2 separate regions of the Homo sapiens genome follow, and region 1 is linked to region 2. The links are contacts of gene promoters, found by promoter capture Hi-C in blood cells and fetal thymus (Javierre and others, 2016). All regions are on one chromosome and are shown on one strand. The core of a region is centred on a gene start or on the middle of the fragment in contact, and the rest is flanking DNA. Distances in the headings are between cores, read along the strand shown. Region 1 has its middle 26 kb from the start of CD40. Region 2 holds the start of SLC12A5-AS1 (SLC12A5 and MMP9 antisense RNA 1).

Region 1 (5,003 bases), core at 2,027-4,526, 120 kb after region 2:
CAAAGTGTGTCAGGAGAACCCCCTGCGGGTTGGGGGATAACCTTAGGTGACACATGATCCAGGTCTCCTGGGAGACTTTGCACAGTTCTCTTTTGATCCCAAGGAGGACACCCCAGTTTGGTGCTGGTTTGTCTTTCATATCCTTTGCTGTAGGAAGATCAGGTCAGACTCGGCCACCAGCAAACAACTGAGTCTAGTTAGAACTCAATAACGCTGATTTGTTCTAAGCTTTGATTTCTACAACTGTTTCCTTCTCAAACACCTTCTCCTCTGGGCTCCCCAATGCTGCATTTTCTCATTTGCCACCCTGCTTCACTGCTTGCTCCCGGCAGGTCTCCTGTTTTGCTTTTTCTGCTGCGGCTGGTCCTCTCAACGCAAGTGTACTATCAGGCTCTGCCTCATTCCTATTCTTGTCTGGAGCTCCATCTAGTCCCAGAGCATTAACCACTACCACTGATTCTCAAATGTAACTCTCGACCCAGATCAATTTCCAGCTGCCTTCCTGATATTTCTATTTGGATGTCCAATAGGTATTTCTAATCTACAAGTCCTAAACGGAGCCTGTGCTACCCACGCCTCTGCCTCTCCCCTTGCCTGCCTTGCTTCAGTAGGTGGTCACACATCTAGGAGTTATCCTTGACTCCTCTCTCTTCTTTGCCTTCCCCATCCAATCCATTAGCCATGCCTGTCAACTTTACCTGCAAAACATATTCTGGAATAGCCAATTCCCTTCATGTCCTCATGCCCTGGTCCGAGCCAGCATCACCCCTCACCTGCAGGCTGCAGCAGCCTCTGGGCTGATCATGCCGCTCTCAACTTGCATCCCTCCAAACCTACCACACGGCAGCTGGAGGATCTTTTAAAAGCATTAATCAGATTACATCACTCAACTGCTTAAAACTCTCAAAGGGCATCCCCTTGTGCTTACAACAAATCCAAGCCCTTTGCTCTGGTTTATAAGGTGCTGTGTGACTGGGGTTTTTTTCTGTCAGTTTCTCTTACTCCATCCATATCCCTCTCTCCCTTGCTCACTCTGCTCTCGTCACATTGCCCTGCCTTTGCCCTTGAACCTACTGAGCTCGGTCCCACTGTGTTCCCTCTGCCCAGAACTTCTCTCCCTTGATCTTCTCTTCCTTTAGCTATCTGCTGGGGGGGGGGTCACTTCCTCCGAGAGGCCTTCCCTGAGTACTCAACAATAAAGCCACTCCAGACACCACTGCATCCCTCTCTTCTTGCTTTTTGCTGAGCATGACAGGTTTTTTTTTTTGCTTTCCTCCATATAATTACAAACTCCACATAAGAAGGAATGTTACCTGTCTTGTTCATTGCTGTATTTTCAGTGCCAAGAATGGTACCTGAATCATAGAAGATGATTATTATTTGCTGATTGAATTAATGAGTTGTATTTTTTACAGTTACCTTTGATGTATGACAGGTGTCACTTTTTTTTCCATTTTAGATGGTGACATAGGTTTCCTTTTAAGAATAAAGCAAAAAAAAATTCTGATAAGAGACTTGAATATATAAGGAACTCTTATAACTCAACAATAAAAAGACAAATACAATGAAAACATGAGCAGAGAATTTGAACAGACATTTCTCCAAAGAAGACATACAAATTGCCAATAAGCACATGAAAAGATGCTCAACATCATTAGTCATTAGGGAAACACAAATCAAAACCACAATGAGATACCATTGCATTTCAAACTACAATGTGATTATCACTTTACTAGAACGGCTAAACCTGGTGAAATTGGAATGCTTGTACATCACTGGTGGGATTGTAAAATGGTGCAGCCACTTAGGAAATAGTCCATCAGTTCCTCAAAAAGTTAAACTTGGTGTTGTCACATGACCCAGCAATTCCTTTGCTTGGTATATACCCAAGAAAAATGACAACATACGTCCATACAAATACTTGTACACAAATATCGATAGTAGCATTATTTAAAAATAGTCAAGAAGTAGAAAAAACTCAAATGTCTGTCAATGGATGAATGGCTGAACAAAATGTGGTATGTACATACAATGGAATAGCATTTGGCCATAAAAAGAGATGGAGTACTGACACAGGCTGCAACATGGGGAATCTTGAAAACCGTGTGCTAATTGAGAGAAGACATTCACGAAAGGTCACCTATTGTATGATTCCATTTATATGAAATGTCCAGAATGGACAAATCCAGAGAAAAAAAAGTCAGTGGTTTCCAGGGGCTGGGGTAGGGAAGAATGGGAAGAGGCTGATAAAAGGTACAGGATTTCTTTTTGGAGGAAATGAGAAATGTTCTGAAATTCAATAGCAGTGGTGCTTGCATGACTCTGTGAATATACTAAAAACCACTGAATTATACATTTTAAAAGGGTGAATTTGGCCGGGCTTGGTGGCTCATGCCTGTGACCCCAGCACTTTGGAAGGCTGAGGAGGGAGGGTTGTTTGAGGCCAGGAGTTTGAGACCAGCCTGGACAACATAGCAACACCTCATCTCTACAAAAAAATACAAAAATTAGCTGGGCATGCTGGCTCACACCTGTAGTTCCAGCTACTTGGAAGACTGAGGCAGGAGGATCACTTGAGCCCAGGAGGCCAAGGCTGTAGTAAGCCATGATTGTACTACTGCACTCCAGCCTGGGTGACAGAGTGAGACCCTGTCTCAATAAAAAAAGGGTGAATTTTATACTATGTGAATTATATCTCAATAAAGCTGTTATAAAAATAAAGTGAAGAAAAATGATAATTTAAAGAAAAAGGCCAACAGCCCCAGTACAGGGACACATGGATCTTTGGCAAAGTCATAGAAGACTCATGTGAATGACTGAAGTTGGTTTGTAGGCTTATAAGGATAAACTGCAGACATCCTAGTTTAACATTGAAGACCTATGCTTAACTCTAGCTTCGTGTGCTGCCCTTTTTAAAATGACTATGTTGACCTTATCCCTATTTCTGGAACACTTAGGAATCTTTCAAGCTGCTTTGTCTTTGCAAATTTTGGGCCCTCCCTGGGATGTCCCTTCTCCTTTTCTTCATCTGGTTGAACCCAAGTCAATATAGGTGGGCTTGATAGGGGATGGGGCATGTGCCAGGCACTGAGCTTGGTGCTGGTGAGACAGTGCAGAGGACTAAGACAGATATGGTCTGGGGCCTTGGCTGGCTCCCAGACAGGGTGAGGAGACAGATGAGGACCTGCCACACCCACACTGGGCTGCAGGAATGCAGTAGAAGAACCTAACACAGCCTGAGAGATCAGAGAAGGCTTCCCCAGAAAGGGACGCTTCAGCTGAGTAGTTGGCCAGGCAAAGAAGAGGGGAGGAGTGCCCCAGATGGAGGGAACAGTCTGGGCGAAAGCCTCAAGACAGCGCGCAGCAAGTTGGAGGAATCCTCAGAAGGTGGGTGTGGCTGGAACACAGCCCAGAAGGTGGTGAGTGCTGAGAAACGGTCCTAGAGAGAAAGCCGGAGCCTGGGGATCAGGGCCCTCATAGGCCATGCCAAGGAATCTGGATACTTGCAGAGCTCAGTTAGATTGCATACAACGCTAGCTGGGTGTGGTGGCGCACCCCTGTAGTCCCAGCTACTCAGGAGGCTGAGGCAGGAGAATCGCTTCAACTCCAGAGGCAGAGGTTGCAGTGAGCCGAGATTGCATCACTGCACTCCAGCCTGGGCAACAGAGTGAGACTCTGTCGCAAAAAAAAAAAAAAAAAAAAAAAAAAAAAGATTCCATACAACTCCAAATGATGGCTGTTTGACTATTTTTTCTTCACATCACGGATCACCCCTGCCGTTATACATCCATCTGTTGATTGTCTTTCCCCCTACTAGAAAGGACAAGGACTTTGTGCTGTTCACTGCTGTGTCCCCAACAGCCAGAAGAGTGCCTGGCTCACACAGACACTCAATAAATACGTATTGAATGCATGACTTTACTGGCCTGTGTCCTCTGCTTACTGAGTTATTGAAAGTCAGGGACCTGTTGGATTCATCATTGCGTCCCCAGGGCCTAGCACAGAGCTTGATGCACATGCTGTTTAATAAATATTGAAAGAATAAATGAATGGAAAAACGTCTTCCCCAATGTGTTACACACTCCCGCAGGGCCGGGACTATTTGATTTATGTATCTAGCGCCCAACACATTGCCTGGCAGAAAGCAGACCCTCAATAAAGGTTTGTTGAGCTAGACAAGAGTCTCTTCTGCATGCGGGCCCTTGTCAGGCCTGTCATGGGAGCTCAAATAAAGGCAACCAGACCCTATACTACTGGATCAGGCAGAAAGAGATACCTTGTTGGCAAAGGATCTTAGGACCCTGGAGTCATAGGCTGTGCAGGCAGGATCAGCCTGCATGTGTAGGGTGGCCAGAGAGACCAAAGAGGGCTTCCCGGGGGTCAGGAATCCTGCCTTTGTTTATGTCCCCTAGCACTGCCCTTCTCTGGCAACTGGCAGGCAGCCCCACCAATGAGGTTTGGGCACAGCTGGGGGTGGAATGGGATGGGACAGATGGTGGGAGACAAGGAAACCCCCATGTTTTCCTCCATCTGTTACATTTAATTGACTTCCCGCAGAAAGAAAAAAAAATAAACCAGTTGCAAGGATGAAATTGCTAATTAAAAGGCCCTCTGATTAGATAGACAAATATTTACCAATTATGCCTGACCCTGCCTGTCCCCTTTTACGTCTGCGAACTCCCCCATCAGCACTGTGGCCACATCATACCCAGCTGGTGGCTCTTCCACCAATCACTCTCTTGGGGCTCAGACTGGCTGCGGGTGAAATAGGGTAGAAGAAAGGTGAATACTGCAAACAGCCGTTCAACAAACGCGATGCCTGTTGCATGGTCAGGCTTAGTGCTGGGCCCCTGGAAGCCATAGCAGAATTTCCATGGACAGCCTTTCAAGTTGTGTGCTGCACAAAGGTGCACCTGCAGGAGAGTGGGGGCTCCCCCTGTCAACCTGGGACCCCTGGCACCAGGCAAGGGGGATTTTTATTTTCTTTGCGCAACGGGTCATTA
Region 2 (5,353 bases), core at 1,135-3,634:
CCACTAAAAATACAAAAATTAGCTGGGCACGGTCGTGGGTACCTTGTAATCCCAGCTACTTGGGAGGCTGAGGTAGGAGAATTTCTTGAACTGGGAGGTGGAGGTTGCAGTGAGCCAAGATCATGACACTGTACTCTGGCCTGGGCGACAGAGTGAGATTCTGTCTCAAGAGACAAAAAAAAAAAAAAAAAAAAAGAAAGAAACAAAACATTATCAGCACCCTAGAAGCCTGCTTGCAATCACTACCTCTTCTCCCCAAGGGGTACCACTATCATTACTTTTTTTTTTTTCTGTCACCCAGGCTGGAGTGCAGTCGCATGATCTCTGCTCACTGCAACCTCCGCCTCCCAGGTTCAAGCAATTCTCTGCCTCAGTCTCCCAAATACCTAGGATTACAGGCACCCACCACTACACATGGTTAATTTTTGTATTTTTAGTAGAGATGGGGTTTCACCATCTTGGCCAGGCTGGTCTTGAACTCGTGACCTCATGATCCACCAGCCTTGGCCTCCCAAAGTGCTGGGATTACAGGTGTGAGCCACCGCGCCCAGTGCCACTATCATTACTTCTAACAGCTTAGATAGACTTTGACTATTTTTTACTGTATTTAAATAGTGTTATAGGGTATGTATTCTTTTGTGTCTGGACTCTTTTTTATCAAGGTTCTATTTGTGAGATTCATCCATATTGTTCTGAGAATTGTAGATGGTATTCCATTGTGTGAAGGTACTACGACTTATTTCTCTATTTTACTGTTGACAAGCATTTGGTAGATTCCAATTTGGGGCTATTATGAACAATGCCCCTATGAACATTCATGGTAAATGTCTTTTGGTGATCACAAGTAGTCATTTCTTTCGGGTATATACCTAGGAGAAAAACTGCTGGGTTGAAGGATATGTGTACGTTCACCTTCAGTAGATGTTTCCAAATAGTTTCCCAAAGTAGTTTTTGCCTAACTACACTCCCACCAGCAGTGTGTGAATTGCCAGGATTTCTCCTTGACTTCACTCTTATGGTCACGTGTCACATCCGATCCATCAGTGGGTCCTGATGGTTTCACTTTCAAAACCTAACTGGAATCAGACAACTGCCACCACTCTAGTCTGGCTGTCATCACCCCCCAGCTTGGGGTCTGCAGGAGCCTCCTAATTAGATTTCCAGCTTCTACTCTTGCCATTCTTTAGTTGAACCTTCGCCCAGCAGCCAGAATGATCCTGTTAAATTATAAATTGGATCACATCATTCCCCTGCTCAAAAAATCCAGGATCCTCCCCAAAGCCTTCAGAAGACCACATGATCTGCCCTTCTCTCCTCCCTCATCTCCAGTCACTCTCTTCTCCACTCACTCTCTTCCAGACACAATGGCCTTGCTGTTTCTTGGACAGTCGGGACTCCTTCTCACTCCAAGGCTCTGCATTTGCTGTTTCTTCTTCTAGAGAACTCTTCCCCCTAGATCTTTGCATAGCTGGCCCTTCTCATCAGTGAGGTCTCAGCTCAAATACCACATCTTCTAGGAGGCCTTCTCAGGCCACCCCTAAAGTAGTCCTCCCTCTTACCCATTATCCCATGGCCCTAGTTTTAAACATACATCCAATCTCAAATGATCTCATCTATGCATTTGCTCACTTATAATCTTTTTCTCCTTATTAGAATTTAAGCCACTTGAGGGCAAGAAGCCAGTGGATCTCATCCACCGACGTATCCCTCGCACCATTGACCGAAACACAGGAGCGCTATCGACATGTGCCGAATGAATGAATGAATGAATGAATGAGCCCCAGGTGTTTAGGAGACCCTAACAGAGGTGCCCCCGTTGTAGGGACGACTCTCACCTGCAGATGGCCTCCTCAGGCCCTTCGGGTGGCACTGGGGAGCCCAGGGCCTCCCAGCGAAGTGGCCAGATTCAGGAACCCTTCGCACAGCGGGCACTAGGACCCTGCGCGGCGCCGCGTCTCGCGGGGGGCGGGCGGGCGGAGGGGGTTGGGGGATCCGCTCTTTCTCCCTCCTAGAGCCTGGTTGCAGCCACTTGTGCGATCCCGGACCTTGCCGCGGCCGCCTGGCTCCTTTCCGCGCCATGAGCCGCAGGTTCACGGTCACCTCGCTGCCCCCCGCAGGGCCCGCCAGAAGCCCTGACCCAGAGTCCCGCCGGCATTCGGTCGCAGACCCCCGCCACCTCCCGGGGGAAGACGTCAAAGGTAGAGGCCGCAGGGGGCGGGGCCTGCCAGGGCCGGGCGGGACGAGGGGGAGGGGCCGGGGCGGACCGTCTGTTGAAGGGGGCAGGGCCAAGACCGGGGGCGGGGAGGGGTCCCAGCCCTAGGCCTGAGAGGGGAATGGAGCCAGGACTAGGAAACCAAGGGGCCGGGGCCGCGGAACGCAAAGTGTGGAGGGGGAGGGGCCAAACGCGAGGTGGGCGTGGCCACGAGGGAAAGGGGTGGGGCCAGGGAAGGGGTTTGGACGGAGGCGAAGGGGGCGGGTCTGGTGATGGAAAGGCCGGGGTCAAGGTGGAGAGTAGGCCGTAGGGCACTAAAGGGGCGGGGACATCTCGAGTAGGGAGCGGGACCAGAGTGAGGAGGTGGAACTAGGGAAAAAGGGGGCTGTGTGTTGAAGGGGGATGGTCAGGAGCCCCTAAAGGGGAGGCGGCGGGACTAGGTTGGTTTGGGGTCAGGAAAGGGCGGGACTAGTAGGGAATGAGTTGGGCCAGGAGGATGGGAGTGGGGCCTGGGAGGGGGGTGGGGTCGAGGGCGGGAGGAAAACTGAGTCAGGGTTGCCGAGGCAGGTGCCAGGTCAGCGGGTCCTCGGTGCCTGGCGGATCCTCCAATCCTCTAGCTCCCTGGAGGCTTAGCGGACAGCGACTGGGGATCCCGGGAAGGAGACGGGAGGCAGGGAAGTTAGTATGGATCCTGGGCAGCGAGATTCAGGGAGGATGCCGTAGGGTCGCTGATCCCGACTCTTGGGGACCCACTTAGCTCCTTGTCTGCTCGAGCTCCGTAAGGGTTGGGAGGAGCCAGCTCAGGCGGGGTTGGGGGCGTCTTCCTCGCGGGCCCTGTGCAGGGTCTTGTAATGGAAGTTACACGCAGGGCACAGAGTATAGGGGAGGGGAAAGATCCTTCTGGCCTTCGGTGGAGAAGTAGCATCCTGGGCGCGTGCACAGTCTCCCCTCAGGGGGCACTCATCAGGGGTCCTCTCCCTGGCTCTGAGGCCCTCGGGTCTGGAAGGAACAAGGCGAATCGGCTTGTAGTGGCCCCAGCGAGGGGAGGAGGAGGAGGAGGAGGAGGAGGAGGAGGAAGAGGAGGAGGAGGAAGAGGAGGAGGAAGAGGAGGAGGAGGAGAAGGAGGAGGAGAAGCCTCCCCAGACCGCCAGGGGTCGCTGCCGAGCCGCAGGTGAGCTCGCCCCGAAGCAAACCCAAGCGCCGAAACCCCTAGAGTAACCCTTAGGGGGTTATCTGGCGGACCTCCTCATTGTACAGATGACCAAATTGAGGCCTGGAATTCCGAATGGCCCCAGTCCCGGGAACCGAACGCCTCCTGGTTGTGGCCACTTGGATTTCTTGGGCTCCTTCCACTCTTCATCTTTCTCATAATCTCTTTTCTCATTTTCATGAATGACCTTACCAGCCTCCCAGATTTGAAAGTAAGAAATTCTGGAGCCATTCTCAACCCTTCCTTTTTTCTTTCCAGCAAATCCAACTGATCCCCACGTCTTGGCCATTCACCTCTGAAACTTATCCTGAATCTGGCAGCATCGGTCCCCCCTCTGTCATCATCGCCCTGCTCCAAGCCTCACATGGCCACGACCACATCCTCTCCACTGGCCTCCCTGCCTCCAGTCCTTCCCTAGCCCTCCTCCACAGAAGCCCCCCATCACTTGCAAAATAAAGGCCAAAGCCTTAAGTCTGTCATTCTCTTTCCTCATTTGCTTCTGGTGTTCTTGTCCACATTCATTCTCCCACCTCCATCAGCCAGGAAAACTCCTATTCGTTCTGTAAGTTATAGCTCATTTAACCTTTTCCAAAAACCTTTTCAGTTTCCTCTTCGGCCCACCCACTGCACCCTTAGTGCACATGTCCCGGTGGATGGCAGTCGTTTTCTTTACTTATGGGTATCCTCCATTGGAACATCTCAAGGACAGGGACCATCTCCTTTATCTTTGTGTTCTGAGTTCCAGACCCAGAGCCTGGCACTTAGTAGGTGTGTAATGCTCATAAGATGAGAGGAGGGTGGCTGTGGGATCCTGCTTCTCTACCCTTGCCTTCTCTTCTCTCGCTCCTCATCCCCTGGCTTAGGAATAAGACGGCCCTCTCTCATGTCCCAAGGTGATTGCTGTTTTCCCATTCACACTCTCAGATGCCGGTACTCACACTACTTCGCTGGGGTCGAAGTGAAACACAGCCCCCAAGCTTTGGGTGTGCAGGTGTGTATGAGCCTGGAATGCTGTGTGCTGTGGCAGAGGCTGTGTGTGTGTGTGTGTGTGTGTGTGTGTCTTGTGGGAGGAGCATCCCCCATTAGTTTTGATGACCTGTGGGGTGGTCAGTGACTCACTCAGTGCTTCTGTGTGTCACTATATTGCCAGCACGTTGAAGGGTGTGCTGATGTGTACATTTCTGTGTCTATCTGAGGGGTGGGTACCTGTGTGCAGGAGTGTATTGGAAGTTCCATCTGGACAATGATTTGGGTGACTTTTAACCTTTTAAGCCTGAAGCAGTCTCAAGCACCTCCTCTCTGGCAGATCACTGTATGGGGAAGTAGACAAGGGCTACTTAGGGGAACCCAGCATCTGCTGGTATCTTTCCCATAGCTGTTCTTGTGTCAGCCCTCTAGCCCCTGATAGATTCTCTTTCCACCTCTTGTCTTCACCCAAAGGGAGGGATAGCAGCATGTCTAAGACTGGGAAAGGTTGGGGGAGATGGTGTGGGTGTGTATTATCTTTTACTCTGGGCCAAATGAGTGGGGTTTGCCACTTGGGGGGCTTTCTGCTGCCAGAGGATGAGCCATAGGTGAGAACATGACTTACAGGGAGTTAAAGAAGCAAGGCAAGGCCAAGCCTCAAATCTGCCACTAACCCTGGATTGCGGGCCACACACCTCACTTGCTTCACCTGTGTCATGGGAGATTGATGGTGACTTGGATGAACAGAAGTAGACCTGGTGACAGTTGTTACAACTCTGAGATGCTCCCCTATTCCTTTATCTGATCCTCTACTATGCCTCCATTTCTCAGGGGGGAGTCAGGGCCCTGAAAAGAGCCCTGGGCCTGGTAGGACTAACAGGAGTTGGGATGTGTCCCCATGGAGGGAGAGGGAGCTAACTTATGCTGGGAGGATGGAGCAAGACCACAATGTAGCCCATCTGTGT

Evidence for each region. Contacts are between HindIII fragments. The CHiCAGO score rates a contact against its expected background, and 5 or more counts as called.
Region 1: a fragment that was not itself captured here is called in contact with the fragment with the promoter of SLC12A5-AS1 in region 2 in 1 of 17 cell types (naive B cells); the score reaches 6.0 in naive B cells.

Annotation. Positions count from the first base shown.
Region 1 is chr20:46,141,440-46,146,442 of GRCh38, forward strand. No RefSeq gene overlaps it. Among named protein-coding and RNA genes, the nearest start is that of CD40, 26 kb to the left of the region's middle. The HindIII fragment of the contact is 6,101 bases long and covers 227-5,003 here.
Region 2 is chr20:46,019,689-46,025,041 of GRCh38, forward strand. It overlaps SLC12A5-AS1 (SLC12A5 and MMP9 antisense RNA 1), which reads right to left and starts at 2,385. Exons shown (of 3, transcript NR_147699.1): 1 at 1,836-2,385; 2 at 43-160. It also overlaps a transcript of SLC12A5 not described here. RefSeq lists silencers at 1,896-2,055, 2,076-2,435. The HindIII fragment of the contact is 8,792 bases long and covers 1-4,397 here.